Linked DNA regions of Homo sapiens: region 1 is linked to region 2. The links are contacts of gene promoters, found by promoter capture Hi-C in human tissues and cell types (Jung and others, 2019). All regions are on one chromosome and are shown on one strand. The core of a region is centred on a gene start or on the middle of the fragment in contact, and the rest is flanking DNA. Distances in the headings are between cores, read along the strand shown. Region 1 overlaps CFAP418-AS1 (CFAP418 antisense RNA 1). Region 2 holds the start of TP53INP1 (tumor protein p53 inducible nuclear protein 1).

The links. The method cuts DNA at HindIII sites, captures the fragments that hold promoters and counts their contacts. A contact is called where the count stands out against the background at its distance.
Region 1: a contact is called between a fragment that was not itself captured here and the fragment with the promoter of TP53INP1 in region 2, in 1 of the 25 tissues and cell types used here (lymphoblastoid cells).

The regions. Positions count from the first base shown.
Region 1 is chr8:95,692,556-95,699,175 of GRCh38, reverse strand. All of the region lies in intron 3 of CFAP418-AS1 (CFAP418 antisense RNA 1), which reads right to left. Among named protein-coding and RNA genes, the nearest start is that of TRS-AGA2-5, 430 kb to the right of the region's middle. The HindIII fragment of the contact is 3,797 bases long and covers 1-3,269 here.
Region 2 is chr8:94,944,740-94,952,181 of GRCh38, reverse strand. It overlaps TP53INP1 (tumor protein p53 inducible nuclear protein 1), which reads left to right and starts at 2,804. Exons shown (of 4, transcript NM_033285.4): 1 at 2,804-3,028. It also overlaps a transcript of NDUFAF6 not described here. RefSeq lists enhancers at 1,949-1,998, 2,169-2,338, 2,205-2,834, 2,835-3,463 and silencers at 2,459-2,568, 2,649-3,028, 3,249-3,388. The HindIII fragment of the contact is 13,226 bases long and covers 1-7,442 here.

The sequences.
Region 1 (6,620 bases), core at 122-2,621, 750 kb before region 2:
GTCAAGGCCAGAGAGTAAATTTTTTTTTTTGGCTTTGAAGGCTATAACAGCCTCTGTCACAATGGCTCAACTGCGTGCAAAACACCAAACAGCCATCAGGCACACAAAAAATAGGCATGGCTAGAATGGGCCTGTGGGCCATAGTTTGCTAACCCTTCACATATAAAATTATTTTACTTACTAGTTCTAGTTCTTCTCAATGAGATTACTGTCCCCCATGATCTATTCTACCCTAGCTGGGAGAAGAACACTGCCAAAGGACGTTTAAGAAGAAGCATGTCTAATATGTAATCTGAAGTTCACATGTGGCTATAATGTAAAACCTTCTCTTTATTTCCCTAAACTTTCAGCAAACTTTTCTGTACATGAAAATACTTCTGTGAGTAGGATTTGTGTGTGTGCTTGTGTGTGTGTTTGGGGGAGGGTGGGCATGTGAAAGTAAAGGGGCTGAATTCAATTTGAGATTCATAAACTTTGGTGCTTTAGGAAGTCAATAAACAATACTTCATTTTTCTCCACCTGGTATCTAAAATAATTGAGAGGTAGACACAGGAAACATGAAAATGGAGCTCAAAATATCACTTTCATTAGTGATAAGCTAGTTGTATGAGGTTTTTTGGTTTTTTGTTGTTGTTTGGTCACGTGTTTTTTGTGCCTTCTTTTGGATGAATTGAGTGCTCTTTCTGATTTCTACTACTTTATGATCTCTGTTGTTGGTTTATTAACTGTGTGCGTGTGTTGTGTATGTGTGTGCTGTTTTTATAAGTAAACTTTTATTGGAATACCACTACACCCATTTATTTATTTATCGTCAATAGGTGCTTTTGTACCACAACAGTAGACCTGAGTGGTGTGACAGTGATCATATTGCCTGCAAAAACAAAAATATTTGCTATCTGGCTCTTGATAGAAAAATTTGCTAATCCTTACTATTAGGTTTACAATTTGTACCTTAATTCATCACAGTCTCCCTATGACTATGGATTTTTCCATGGATCCTTTCATTTCTGTCATTTTTTTGTTTTATGTGTGTTGAAATTATGCAATGGGGTACACACAGATTTAAAAGTGTGATTACCTCATTTTATAATGATTTCCTTATCATTATGAAATGTCCCTGATTATCCCCAATGAAGTTTGTCCCTTTAAAGTCCAAATATTCCAATATAAGTATAGCTACCCAAAATTTTATTCAGTTAGTTCTTACATTATGTGTTTTCATCCTTTTATTCTTAAATTTTCTGATCTTTGTATTTAAAGTACATCTCTTATTAACAGCATATTGTGAAGTTTTACTTTTTATCCAGTTTGACAATCTTATTCTTTTGCTTATTTAGTCCACTTACATTTAATGTAATTACAGATATTGTAGGGCTTGTACCTACCATCTTGCTAGCTTTTTTCCTCCATTTTTGGTCATCTATTTTATGTTACTTTAGTTTTTGTTTTTTTGTCTCCTTATAGGTTAACTAAACATTTATTATTCTATATTCTATTTCCCCTTCTCTAATTTGTTAGTTATACACACTCTTGTTTTCTTTTAATAGTTACCCTAGAATTTATGATGTGACTTATTAGAATCTAATACAGATTTCTAACTTTCCCACTTCCCAAATACTTTTAGACCTTTTAAACTCAGTTGATGCCTTTCTCTTTTATTCGTTATTTTATATATATTAGTTGTAAATGTATTTGAAACTTCAAAAGACATCATTATAACTGTTTTCTACAGCCAATATATACTTGCATACCCACATATATATTTATATATAATATTTGCTTATTTACTCACATACATATCTTTTCTGGTATTCTTCTTTTTTTTTTTTTTTCACTCCTGCCTTTTGAGTTATCCTTCTGGGGTCATTTTCTTTTGCCTGAAGAAGTCCCTTGAGTATTTCCTACAGTAAAGACCTACTGGCAATTAATATTTTGGGTTGCTGCTTTTCTGAAAATATTTTTATTTTGCCTTCATCTTTGAAGAATATTTTCACTTCCCCTCCCCCTCCACCATTTGGGCCTACAGAGACAATACTCCATTTTCTTCTGGCTTCTCTAATTTCCTTTGACAAATCAGATGTAAGTCATTTCTGTTTCTTTGAATTTGTTTTTCTTTTCTCTTTTCCCAATGCCTCTAAAATCCTGATCATACATTTAATTTAAAAGTTTGATAACTATGTGCCTACATGTAGTTATCTATGTGTTTATACAGCTTGGGGCATGCTAAGCTTCTTGAATCTGTGGATTAATGTCTTTCTTCAATTTTGGAAAATGCTTAGTTATTATCTCTGACATTCTCTCTCCCTTTATTCTAGAAGCCATTTATACACATATTTAAGTAGTTCTCACTTCTCTCTCACGCATTTTTTTTATCCTTTTTTTCTCCCTGTGCTTAGGTTTGAGTGTATTTTTATTAACATGACTTCTAGGCCACTAATTCCTTTCATCTGCCGTGACCCATCTGTTGCTAAACATCCAACAAGTTTTTAAATAATAAAATGGCTTGCGATGGTCATCTCAACTGAGTAGTCCTCCACTCTCTCGAATTTTAGTTCATCTGTTCTTCACAGTTTTCACAGCCCTGCAATGTCTTTAAAACATAATTCTTGTAAGTTACCTTTTTTCCATTGTTACAATAGAAAAATTGACCTACCGCAACCTATTTTATTATACTCGAAGTCAGAAATTTCTTGAAAGACTATTCTTTATTAGTGAGCAAACTGTTGCAATATGTTTAATCCAGTACTCAATAAATATTTACTGAGTATCTTTGTATCTGTAAGGAATCCATCTGGCTGTGGGTAACAGAAAACCTGACTATAGAGGCTTAAAGAAATAAGGGTTTCTCTTGCTCACCTAATAAGAACTCTGGAGTTAGGTAGTTACTGATATTGTTTCAGCAGCTCAGTGATGTCAGTGTTGATGTCTTTGAAATTATCCTGGCCTTTTCTTAGTACATCTCATCTCAAGGTCACCAGATAGCTGCAGCTCTAAATAATATTTCCACATTCTAGTCAACAAATAGGTAGAAGGAAGGAACATGACAGTCAGCTGTGTTTGGGTTTTTTGTTTTTCAGGAACACAACAGCTATCCAAAACCTCTGAGCTAAATTTGGATTTTGTTTGACTGATCAGGCTGTATCATATAGCCACCACCAGTAGTAAGGGAGGGTGAAAAATTTGGTACCCACCTAGGTAGAAGTTGACTGGGTAAAGAGTAAGTGGGTAGGCAAAGAAAATATAAGTTCAAAGGACAATAGGTGAGGAAACATATCAGGCTTTCAGAAGCAAGAGACAGAAAACCAAGTTAGTATGCTTCAAACAATAAGGTCACTAATTATCTCACATTACAACACACCTGGAGGAAAGGTAGAGTAATTTAATAGTTCCACAAGATATTATTTTATCTTCCCATTCTGCCACTCTCAACAGTGATCAGTTCCACTCATGATCGTAAGTTGGCCCTAGCAGCTCTAGACATCATATCTTTACTCATCAAATTCCAGAGGTAATGATAGGAATCATTCCTGTCTTTGATCCCAAAAACCTTCAACAAACTTCCTCTCAGTCAGTGGTGACACTAATTGTCAGAGTAAAAATCTGTCAAATTAGTGTCACATAATTAATATCACTGATGTGCTTAAATCAGCTATTTTGAAAAGGTAATGAGTTGAGTATAATTAAGGTTTACCCCCAATAACTAGGAAGAGGCCCAGCCTTCTCTGAAGATATTTATGCCGCAGAACCAGTAAATACATTTAGGATTCTTTAACAAGGAAGAACGGGAAAATTACTAAACATTCTGCAGTGTTTGCTACAGAGGGCATGAGACACTCAGGAAATTCAAATAATTCAGTATGTTTGAAATATAAAGAAGAAGATTGGAAATGAAGTGAATGGAAAATCAAGGTCAAGCCAGATCTTGATGGGCCTTTAAAGTCACCAGTCTGAGTTTAGACTTTCTCCTGAAGGCAATGGGAAGCTATTGTACCATTGTAAGCAGGGAAATGACACAATTCGACTGGAAATAAAAGTCTGGATTTATTATGAAGAATGAATGGATGGGACAAGATTAAAGACAAGAGGGCATAAGGAAACATAAGGCATGGCTGTCAAGTAATGAGATGGTTTCCACATGACTTGCAAATAATATTATACTAGCTAACATTTACTCGAATTAGCTCATGCAACCTTCACGATAACCTGGTGAGGAAACTGAGACACAGAGGTTAAGTAACCTGCCCAAAGTTTAAAAGTTATGGCAGAGTTGGGGCTGAAACTCAGGAAGTCTGTCTCCAGAGCCTGTAAGCTTAACCGCCATGCTGTAAGCCTTACTGTGTTAGCTTGGAAGTAAGTCTCTAAGAACTCTTGCATAGTCCCTGATTTTAGGCCACTGACTAATACTCCTAAGAAAATAAGATAAACTTAAGGAGGAAGTATGGCTGCATAGGGCTCTGGGTTCAAACCTTGGTTCTGATGCTCATCAGCTGCAGCCTTGAATGAGCTTCCTGAGTCTTCTGAGGCTCAGCTTCCTCACCTATATAGTAAAGGAGGCCATTTCACTTTGAATATTTGTGCAGATTGAATTAAATGGGAAAATGTTTGAAAGCTTTCAGCACATGGAAGACTCTCAAAATTGTTCAACCCTTTCTTGTCTTTTTCAAATAGCAATACCATGGTGAAGGAGACATTCCAGATTATTTGATATTCTAGAAGGCAAGAAGTGATGTGTGGTTGCTAATGAGGAACACAGAAGACCAGCACTAGAGCAGGAGTTTAAACCTGGGCATCCATGAGCTTGAGGAAAAAAAAAAAAAAAGAATCACATCTTGTTTTTTATCAGTGTCTAACTGAAATTTAGCCTTTCCTTCATTCTTAACTATAGGCAACAAATCTGAGTGGCACTAGGAATACCTGTGCCTCAGGCCAACAGAAATCAAATAAAGTGCCTTCAAATCACATTTCAGTTATTACAGATGTCAAAACATTTTTGACACTCATCACTACTTTGAAATTACATCAGTTATTAGCTCTGCCATTAAATCTTGTAATTTAACAAATTGATAAGGTATACACACGTTTCTATTGCTCATAAATGAAAAAAGTATTTTGATAATTCATTTTCAATGAAATGGGTTTCCATTGTAATCCTGTGTTTTTTATTTTATGTATCTAAAAACATTATTTTGAGAAGTCCATGGGCTTCACCAAAGGCAAAAGGGAGTCCATGGCACAAAATGAACTTCTGCACACGAGGACCTCAGCCAGTGGTGCGGGCGGACTGCAGAGGGAGGAGGGCAGCATGAATCCTATCAGTCTCATGCACCAGGAGTTTGGGGGAGGAAAAAATGCGCAACACTATCCCGCCTGTGACCCTTGGTAGAGCTGAGGCAGGATGCAGATGACCCGGCCCTGGCAGCTTCTGAGACTTTTTCCCGAGCATTCTTGTAAAACAGCAACCACATTGCCACATGTGCCTGGAATTTGATTTCCAGGCCAAGTGTCAGCTTTTCCATGCTTAGACTCCCTCAGGTTTTGGCCCAGGTCCTCCCGCTGTCAAAGCCCAGCCCTTTCAATATCTCGACCACCTGCCAGAGAGAACAGATTCATGGAATTTTGGCCGGCACTTCTGAGTCACGTCCTCAGCCACAGGATTCCACCTGCGGCCCCTGGAGGCCTGGACTGCAAGGTGCCTGCGGATGTAACTGGCGCTGACCCGGCCCCAGTCAGGGCAGCGTGTCCTTCCCTGATGGGTCAGGAGACTTTACAAATTGGGCCAATTTCCTCCTCTCTGTTCCAAAGAGGCATTTTCTTCTCAGAGAGCGTGTCTGGGTTGTTTTAATCTTATCTAGAAATCTTAGTTTCTACCAAGTTATTCTTTTTTCTAGAATCCAACAACAAATTTACCACAGGAAATGGTAGGGAGAAAGTCTTACGCAATGGGAGGATATTGTTATAAATAGGAGTCCTTGCTGTGACTTTCTTAAATAAACACGTTGCTAATGTTTTCAGGCAGTGGTAGAGCTACTGTTCAGAGACTGGTAAGAATGTTCTCCTTGTAAAACAGAATCACTCTCCTTCCAAACTACTGCTTCTACAAAAGTAAAATGAACCCCATTACAAGCTTGGTTCGGGGAAATGGTCCCACTTCACCTGACTAGATGAGGGAAGTAGGCCAACCTTCTAGAGATAATGACATAAGAGGTTTGTGTTGCACAAGTGAGAAAAACGCCCCCTGCCTCCCATTCCCTTCCCTCAGCCTTGCAACTAGGACCTGAAATTTTATAGATATACTACCATGACATATATTTACCTATTATTAAAACTTCTAATGTTTCCAAGACAGGAATACATTAAATTGTTCGATTTGTATTCCCTTTATACTATTTATCTGATCCTTTTCAGTTAAGAATGAACTGACTGATAGCAAGAGAGAAGGACAATTTCATTAGATCCATTAAGAAGTCTTACAAGTCTACATCCAATGAGAAGAAGAGAGACCAAAGCAGACCCCTGGAAGAAATCAGCCATTTTTAAAGGGGTGGATCAAGGAGGAGTCCATAGAGATGAAAGAGAGCCATCCAGGTTCTGGCATCTAGTAAGCAGTCAATAAATATTTA
Region 2 (7,442 bases), core at 1,555-4,054:
TGAGTCTTCCAAACAAAACTTGAGGTTGAATCCCTTTTGTTAGGGTAGATAAGGGAGCGTATTGAGCTCCATGGAAAACAGACAGGAGAACTCTGACAGATGGGGAAAGGGTCACCCCCACAGCAGGGGGTCAGCCTGGAAGTGGGTACTATAGCAACACGCTAAGAATTATTCTGTGAATTAAAGGATGGTTGGATTCACTGGATCTGCCCAGGCAGGGAACCTGGCTGGGTCTTTGTCAGTGAACAGATGAAAAGCTTGCTTGCATTTGTGTAATTTGACAGTTTGGTTGTGTTCAGACAGCTCTACGCTATGGAGATGACATTACTCCTGAGTTTCACTGCATGCATTTATGTAAACCAGTGGCATACCAGGAAGGGAGGCAGTGGGAGTGATCCACCCCAGATACAGGCAGTACACAGTAAATTTGTGTGTCTGCAAAGAATTTTAAAATAAAATTGACTAAAAGTCAGTTTGCTTTTTATTATTATGCTCCAACAGTTCCAAACAATGTCGTGGTAAAGTACTCCTCCCTCCTAGGGACAGACTTCACCTATGCTGCCCTGAGGCACGCCCTCCTTGGTGCACCACTGGGAATAAACAAGCACCAGGTGGGAAGATTATAAATCAGCAAGAGAGTAAACAGAAAGCAAGTGACTCCTGAGACAAGATGTTTTCATCACAAACACTATTTGGTAGAGTTTAGAGTCACTGATCTGTGATGGGCATTTCTGTTAGCTTTGTGTTTTGGTTATCGCTGCTTTAAAAACTACCCCAACATTTAGTGCCTTAAAACAATGATCATTTATTTGTTCACAATGCCGTCATTTTGGCAGTGCTCCGTGGGGATGGCTTATCTCTCCTCTGTTCAGTATGGTGTCTGCTGGAGCTGGAACTTCCTAAGGGCTTTTCCACTCATGTGTCTGGTAGCTCAGCTGGGATGAGCTGAAGAGCTAGAGCTGGCCAGGCATCTCTTTCTTTTCACATAGCCTCTCCCTGTGGCTAGCAGGGTGGTCTCTCCTCATGGGTGGCTGGCATTTTCCAGAGTACAAAGCAGAAGCTGTGGGGTTTGCTTAATGCTTTTGCTTAATGACGAGGCTTGGAAGTCCTAGAACATTCTTTCTGCCACATTCTATTGGTCAGAGCAATCACAGGGTCAGCCCAGATTCAAAGGGAAGAAAAATACACCCACTTCATGATGGAGATACTGTTGTGGTCATCTTTGGAAAAATGATCTACTTCATATTGAATTTTTCTATCATAACAAGATGATGATTTCACATGTTGCTTTAACCATGATAAACCTTATCAAACTGGAAAAAGGTAGGCCTTTTTCTTTTTAAAAATTAGCCCCTTGTAATTGTCATCATACCTTGGTTCTGAATGTGGAGATGGCCTCTTCAATGGATTCCTAGGGAGAAACAAGAGATCATGGGGCTCCTACCATAGCATGTGGGAGAAAATATTAGAACAAGCCTGATTTGCAAAAACCTAAAATCCAAAGCATGTTCAAGTCTGTGAGACTATCTAGAACACAGTTTTAGCTCTTTCTCCCAAGATAAGGTCCAATGACCATCATATTTTGATCATTACTCCTTGGTGTCTGACAACTCCCTGCACTGCAATTTACATCCTTTAAAACCAGCATTGTTGGAAATGGACTGACTACATTGTGAGGGTCAGAATGTGAGTGTCTTTCAGATACTGTAATGTGTGATAGGCATCCCTCCAGGGTTGCTATACAGCTCACCCCAGGTCAAAGAACTACATCCCAGTCCAAACAGTATCCACATGAGAGCTGATAGGCATCAACGTTACTCACCTGCCTTTGCCAGACAGTTAATCCACCTATATGTGGGACAGAGCCTTGGTCTGGAAAACACTTTCAAGCCCACTGTCTCACTCTCTTGTCACTATAAATAACCTGGTGAGTTGGCAGTCCCGGCGTGAATGCCCACAATTTGCAGGTATGCAAACAGAACAGAGGGGCTAAGTTCCGTGGGTCACATGAGAGCTAGGCTGCAGCGCCTGGGGAGGCGGCCGTTCCCGCCCGGTGCGCTTGTTGTCCGCTGGAGCAGAGGCCCCCGAGCCTGCTGACCTCTCTGCCTTCAGGCCTGGTCTCGCAGTCCCTTGTGCCTCGCCTATAGGCAGGCGGAATCCAGAGCGTGCAGCAAGCCCGGCCGGCTCTCGGTGGCGGTTTCTACAGCAGGTGGGGCCTGGCTCCGTGATTGAGCGGCCTCTACCCCTCTATCTGGGGCCCAGCAGCGGCCCCCTCCCAGCACCCTGGCTACACGTCTAACCCTAGGCTGACCAGGTGGGGCTCTCGGAGGCGTTAGCCCCAGCCCTCCCAGGAGTCTTAATGTTCCTCTCACAGGAAAAAACGTTCTGCGCCCTTTGTGCCCCAAACCCTCGACCCTTCACTCGGCGAGAGGGGTCGCTGAGGGAGAGATCCACCTCTGCCCTTCCCGTTGCCCGCCGGTTCTTCCTCGCCCGCCTCTTACGCACCCCGCTCCCGCCGGCTCCTGGAAAGCCGGCCCCGGCCCCAGCGCTTCCCTCCCCGGCCTAGCCCCTCTCTCCCACCCTTCCGCTCGCCCAGGCCTTCACGCTCAGCTCCCGGTTTTTGTTGCCCGGGCTTGTTTCGGAGCTGAGCGCGCCGCCGGCCGGGCGCCAGGTCACGTGCGTTGGTGACAACCTCTCGCAGGGCGGCCCCGGGGCCCCCGCACCGCCGATTGGTGGGGCCCGGCCTGGCGCGGCCCGGGGCGGGGCAGCGGGGCCCGACGGCGAGCGGAGCGGCCGATCAGCTGTTGCGAGCGCTGCACAACAACAAAAGGACTTGGACTGGCCGGCCTGGGCGCAGCGACCCGAGGGCTGGAGCCGGCCCCGCGCCTGCCGTCTGGGTACCTGAACGAGGTGCAGCGCAGCCCGGCCCCACCGCAGCTACCTCAGCAGTCCCGCCCCGCCCGCGTCCTTCCCCGCCGAGCCGGCGGCCGCTCCCTTCCCCGCGCAGCCCCGCACGGCCCGGGCCCACGTAAGTGCCGGGGGGGGGCGGGCGGGCGTCCGTCCAGGGCCGCCTCGCTGCCGGTTGGGGCCGCAGCGCTGCCCGCTCCTGAGCCCGGCGGGGCCGGCCGCGCGCCCTGCCTTCGGGGCGCCGGTTGCGCGTTCACCGAGCCCCCTCGCTGCCTCCCCTCGCCGCCGCCGGGCCCGGCCGCCCACCCAGTGGGTCGGTCCTCGGCGGCCCCCGGGGCCCAGGGCGCGGACAGAGGCTGACAGAGGCGGCGGCGGCGCGGACAAGGGCCCGGCCTGGCCCCGGCGCTGGGCGGCGGTTGGGAGTTTGGTCTCTGCCTCCTCCCCCGAGCGTGGCTTGTTTTCTTGGCCGCGGCGGGACCTCCTCCTCTCACCCCTCCTCACTCCCCTCCACTCCTCCTCCTCCGCCTGCTCTCGGCCGTTGGATGGGGCCGCCCCTTCGGGACTCGGCGTCGGGGCTCCCGCGGCCACCCCCGGGACGCATCTCCGAAGACAGCGGCGCTTGGGCTTGTGGCCCGGCGCTCTGTCCCCGCCCTGCGATCCCGTCCCCTGCGCCTGCCCTCCGAGTTCCGGAGGCCCTGCGGCTATGGGGAACCTGCTCCGTGACCCGGCCACCGGCCCCCGCCTGTCCGCGGCCTGTCCCTTGCTTGACCTGGCTTGAACTCAGTCTTCGCTACCTGACTTTGCACCTGTGGAAAGAGCGCTCTCCTTGGCCCTTAACATTTAGATCCTTTGGATCGCTCACGCTTACTGAGCGCTGAGTATGTGCCATATACTATGCTGGGGGCTTTGCTTTATCGCCCCAGTTGATTCTCATAATAACCTTATATGAAATAGGCCCGGCTATCTTACACATAGGAAACCCGAGGCACAGAGAGATTAAGTTGCTCAAGGCCACACAGCCAATTAATAAAAGGAAATGGTGTTTGTATTTCAAAGTGGCAGCTGAATTTTACCTGGAGAGTCTGTTTTGCTTGTATTTTCTGATTATATCTGCTCAGTAGGTTAATTCCAATACAGAGTGGATTAAGGAAGAGCCTCTTTACAACTGTGACTCCCAAGGACTTGGGCATCTATTGCTAAAAAAGCCTTTTCTCAATGCACAATAGTTTTGGGAAAAGGGGGAACAATGTGACCCTTGGGGTCACTGAACAGAAGTCATAATGAGTTCCCCCACGATACTGAAATCACCAGCCTGGTAATTGAAATACATTTTCATTTGCAGATGTGAAAAGCACTGGGAAGCTTTTAAGTCGCAATCAGTGTAATTCTGAACTGGCAGCATAATTTTAAAAGGCCCCTGCCTGGAACCAGGACCTTACTAATTTCTGTGACCAAGGTCTTGTTTTCTCATCCTATCTTTTGTTCTTTCCTGCCATTGCTTCCTCTGATGTCTGCTTTCAAAATTCAAGATTATCAGGCTATGAATTACCACTTACTCTTGTCTTTGTCCACTGTCTTTCAGCCTTAGGGGCAGACAGGGGTGGATCCCTGGGGGAATAACCTCCCTTGCACACTAGTTGAACAGTCTTCACATAAGTGGAACAAGCAAAGACAACTTTTTTGGCTTGGTTTTTTCTGCAGTTCAAAATCCATTTTAAATTACTTGAATCTAGTCTTCATATAAGTGGAACAAGCAGAGATAACTTTCTTGGCTTGGTTTTTCTCCAGTTCAAAACCCATTTTAAATTACTAGAATCTGCACGTTTTTAAAGTAGTGGAAGAGGGTGGGATAAAAAGAAGGATAATTCTGAAGCTGCTTTTCAATGACGGTACGTTTAGCCACCTGATTTCCTGAAACTGTGAAGGAGCCACAACTGTACACAGATTTAGAAGTTAGATCATCAAACTTGCGGGTTTTTTTTTTTTTTTTAATATTTTTTGGAGCCGCCTACTGGCAGCTGAAACTAACTGAAAAGGGCTGTTTTCTGAAGTTCGTAGACCCATAGTTGAGACTGGGAGCCTAAAAGAGCATGTATAGGGAAAACAAGGAATTGGAATCAGATGGATTTTTGCCCTAATGCTGACTCCACCCCAACCAACTCTGTCACTTTTGAACAAGTTAGTTAATTCCTCAGCCTCGGTTTCCTCATCAGTAAAATGGGACAAATAAGTACTTCAAGGCCCCGTTACATACAATAAGCATTCTGTAAATTGTAGCTCTAATTATTAAGTAGACATTTTATGGATAAAGAAACTCAAATGCAGCGATGCTAAATGACTTGTTGACAGTCTCACAACTGGCTTTGAATGAACCGAGGTCTGCTATTCTAAGTAGTATACACTTAATCCTTACACTGGCACTGTGAAGTAGGTATTATAACTATCATTCCCATGTTAAGGATGAGAAAACAGAGACACCAAGATGTTAGTAAATATCCTGAATTCACATAGGTTGCAAGTAGCAGAGCCAAGATTTCAAACTCCAGGGCCTGTCTTTTTTTTTTTTTTTTTTTTTTTTGAGACAGGGTCTTACTCTGTTGACCAGGCTGGAGTGTAGTGGTGGGATCACAACTCACTGCAGCTTCAAACTCATGGGCTCAAGCGATCCTCCTACCTCAGCCTCCCTGGTAGCTGGGACTACATGCACATACCACCACACCCAGCTAATTTATTTTTTGTAGAGATGGGGTCTTGCTTTGTTGCCCAGGCTGGTCTTGAACTCCTGGCTTAAAGTGATCCTCCTGCCTTGGCATCCCAAAGCACTGGGATTATAGACATGAGCCACTGCGCCCAGCCTCAGAGCCAGTCTTTAAGTACCACAATATACTGCCTCTTGGTGGGCTGTCTTAAAAGTGACAAAATAAATTATGCTAACAAGATCTTCCAAATTAGCAGTTCCTTTTCTAAGTGGTCAAACTAGAATGCTCTTCCCCGTGAGTATTAGACTCAGTCAGCCACCTTTCTCTGCCTACAAAGCATCTCTACTCATGTAATAATATGAAAACCATTGATGATAAAATGTTAAGTAACAGTGAGATACAAAACAGTGCATTCACAAGACTATAACTATGATAAAAAGAAGCCTTATGTGTAGAAGAAAAAAAAAAACAGAAGAAAAGGCACCAATGTGTTAAGTGGTGGGAACAAGGCAATGGAATAATACTTATTTTTCTTATTTTCTAGACTTTTTATAATGTGGTTTTGTTCAGTTTATAATTGAAAAGACATAATTTATTTTTTAAAGGGAGGGATGGAGGTCTTTTGAGCCAAGCAGAACAAGGACAAAGCTGCCTTCTTGAAATGCTAGGGCCCAGACACTTTGTTTCTTTTCTGTATTGAGGGGTTCTTTTCTCTTGTCGGGGAAACTGCTGGACTGACGCTGGTTAAAGCTGTTCAAAGAACAACAGCGCTACTTCACCTAACCTTCTTTGCTTCACCTCTTTGCTGAATTCCAGAACTGTATTTGTAAGTTTGTCCTCTTAGGACACATGCTTTCTCTGGAATTTTTATTTTCGTTCTATGATTGCCCTAGCATTGTGAATATTAGTGGTGATCTGGGGAGGAGAGGAGTCTAAAGCTCTACTTTTCCATTTACCTCCATGTAGAACCAGCCCAGTTGAGAGCCTCCATCCCTGGGCAGGAGCCAAGGTCAACAGTAGCAGTGACTGGGCAGGGACAGTCTCTGGGTCATCAGTAGGAGGGTAGGCCTTTAAGACTTTTTCTAGAACAGTCCTGTTCAACAGAAATAGATAATGTGAGCCACATGTATGTTTGAATTTTCTAGTAGCCATATTTAAAAAGGAAAAAGAAACTGGTGAAGTTAATTTTATTAATGTATTTAATATACTAAAATTATTTTTTCAACATGTAATCAATATAAAAACTGTTTTGCATTTTGGGGGGTACTAAGTCTTTGAAATACACTCTAGTGTGTACTTTACATATACAGCACATCTCAATTCAGATACAAAGTTTTCATTTGAAGTACTTGATCTATATTTAGACTTCGTAAAATTTATAGGTGAAAAAGTAGATTCATACCCTAACTGTTCCAAACATACTTGAAAGTTTTCAAAAAACTAAATTATCAGCTTTTAAGTTTAACTGGATTAAACTTAGTAAATGGATTAAATAGTAAAATGAAAAATGCAGTTTCTCGATGATACTAGTCACATTTCAAGTGTTCATGTGCACAGTGTGCCTGGTGGCTACCTCAGTGGACAGTTTTAGCAATGGGGGGAGGGTCTCTCCAATAGCTCCTTGCCTTTTGTGACACCTGCAGAAAGCAGGGCCAAAGGAATTTGGCTTTGCTAGTTAAACCAGCCTCACTTTTTTGTGCTAGAAGTTTGTGGGGAAAGAGAGTGACGAGGTGATTCAGCGCAGTCTCCCCATTTTCCCAACAGTGAGACTGAAGCTCAGAAGGGCCAATTTAGCTCCAGCCACCTGTAGTAGAGCCACAGCCAGAACTGCTGCTG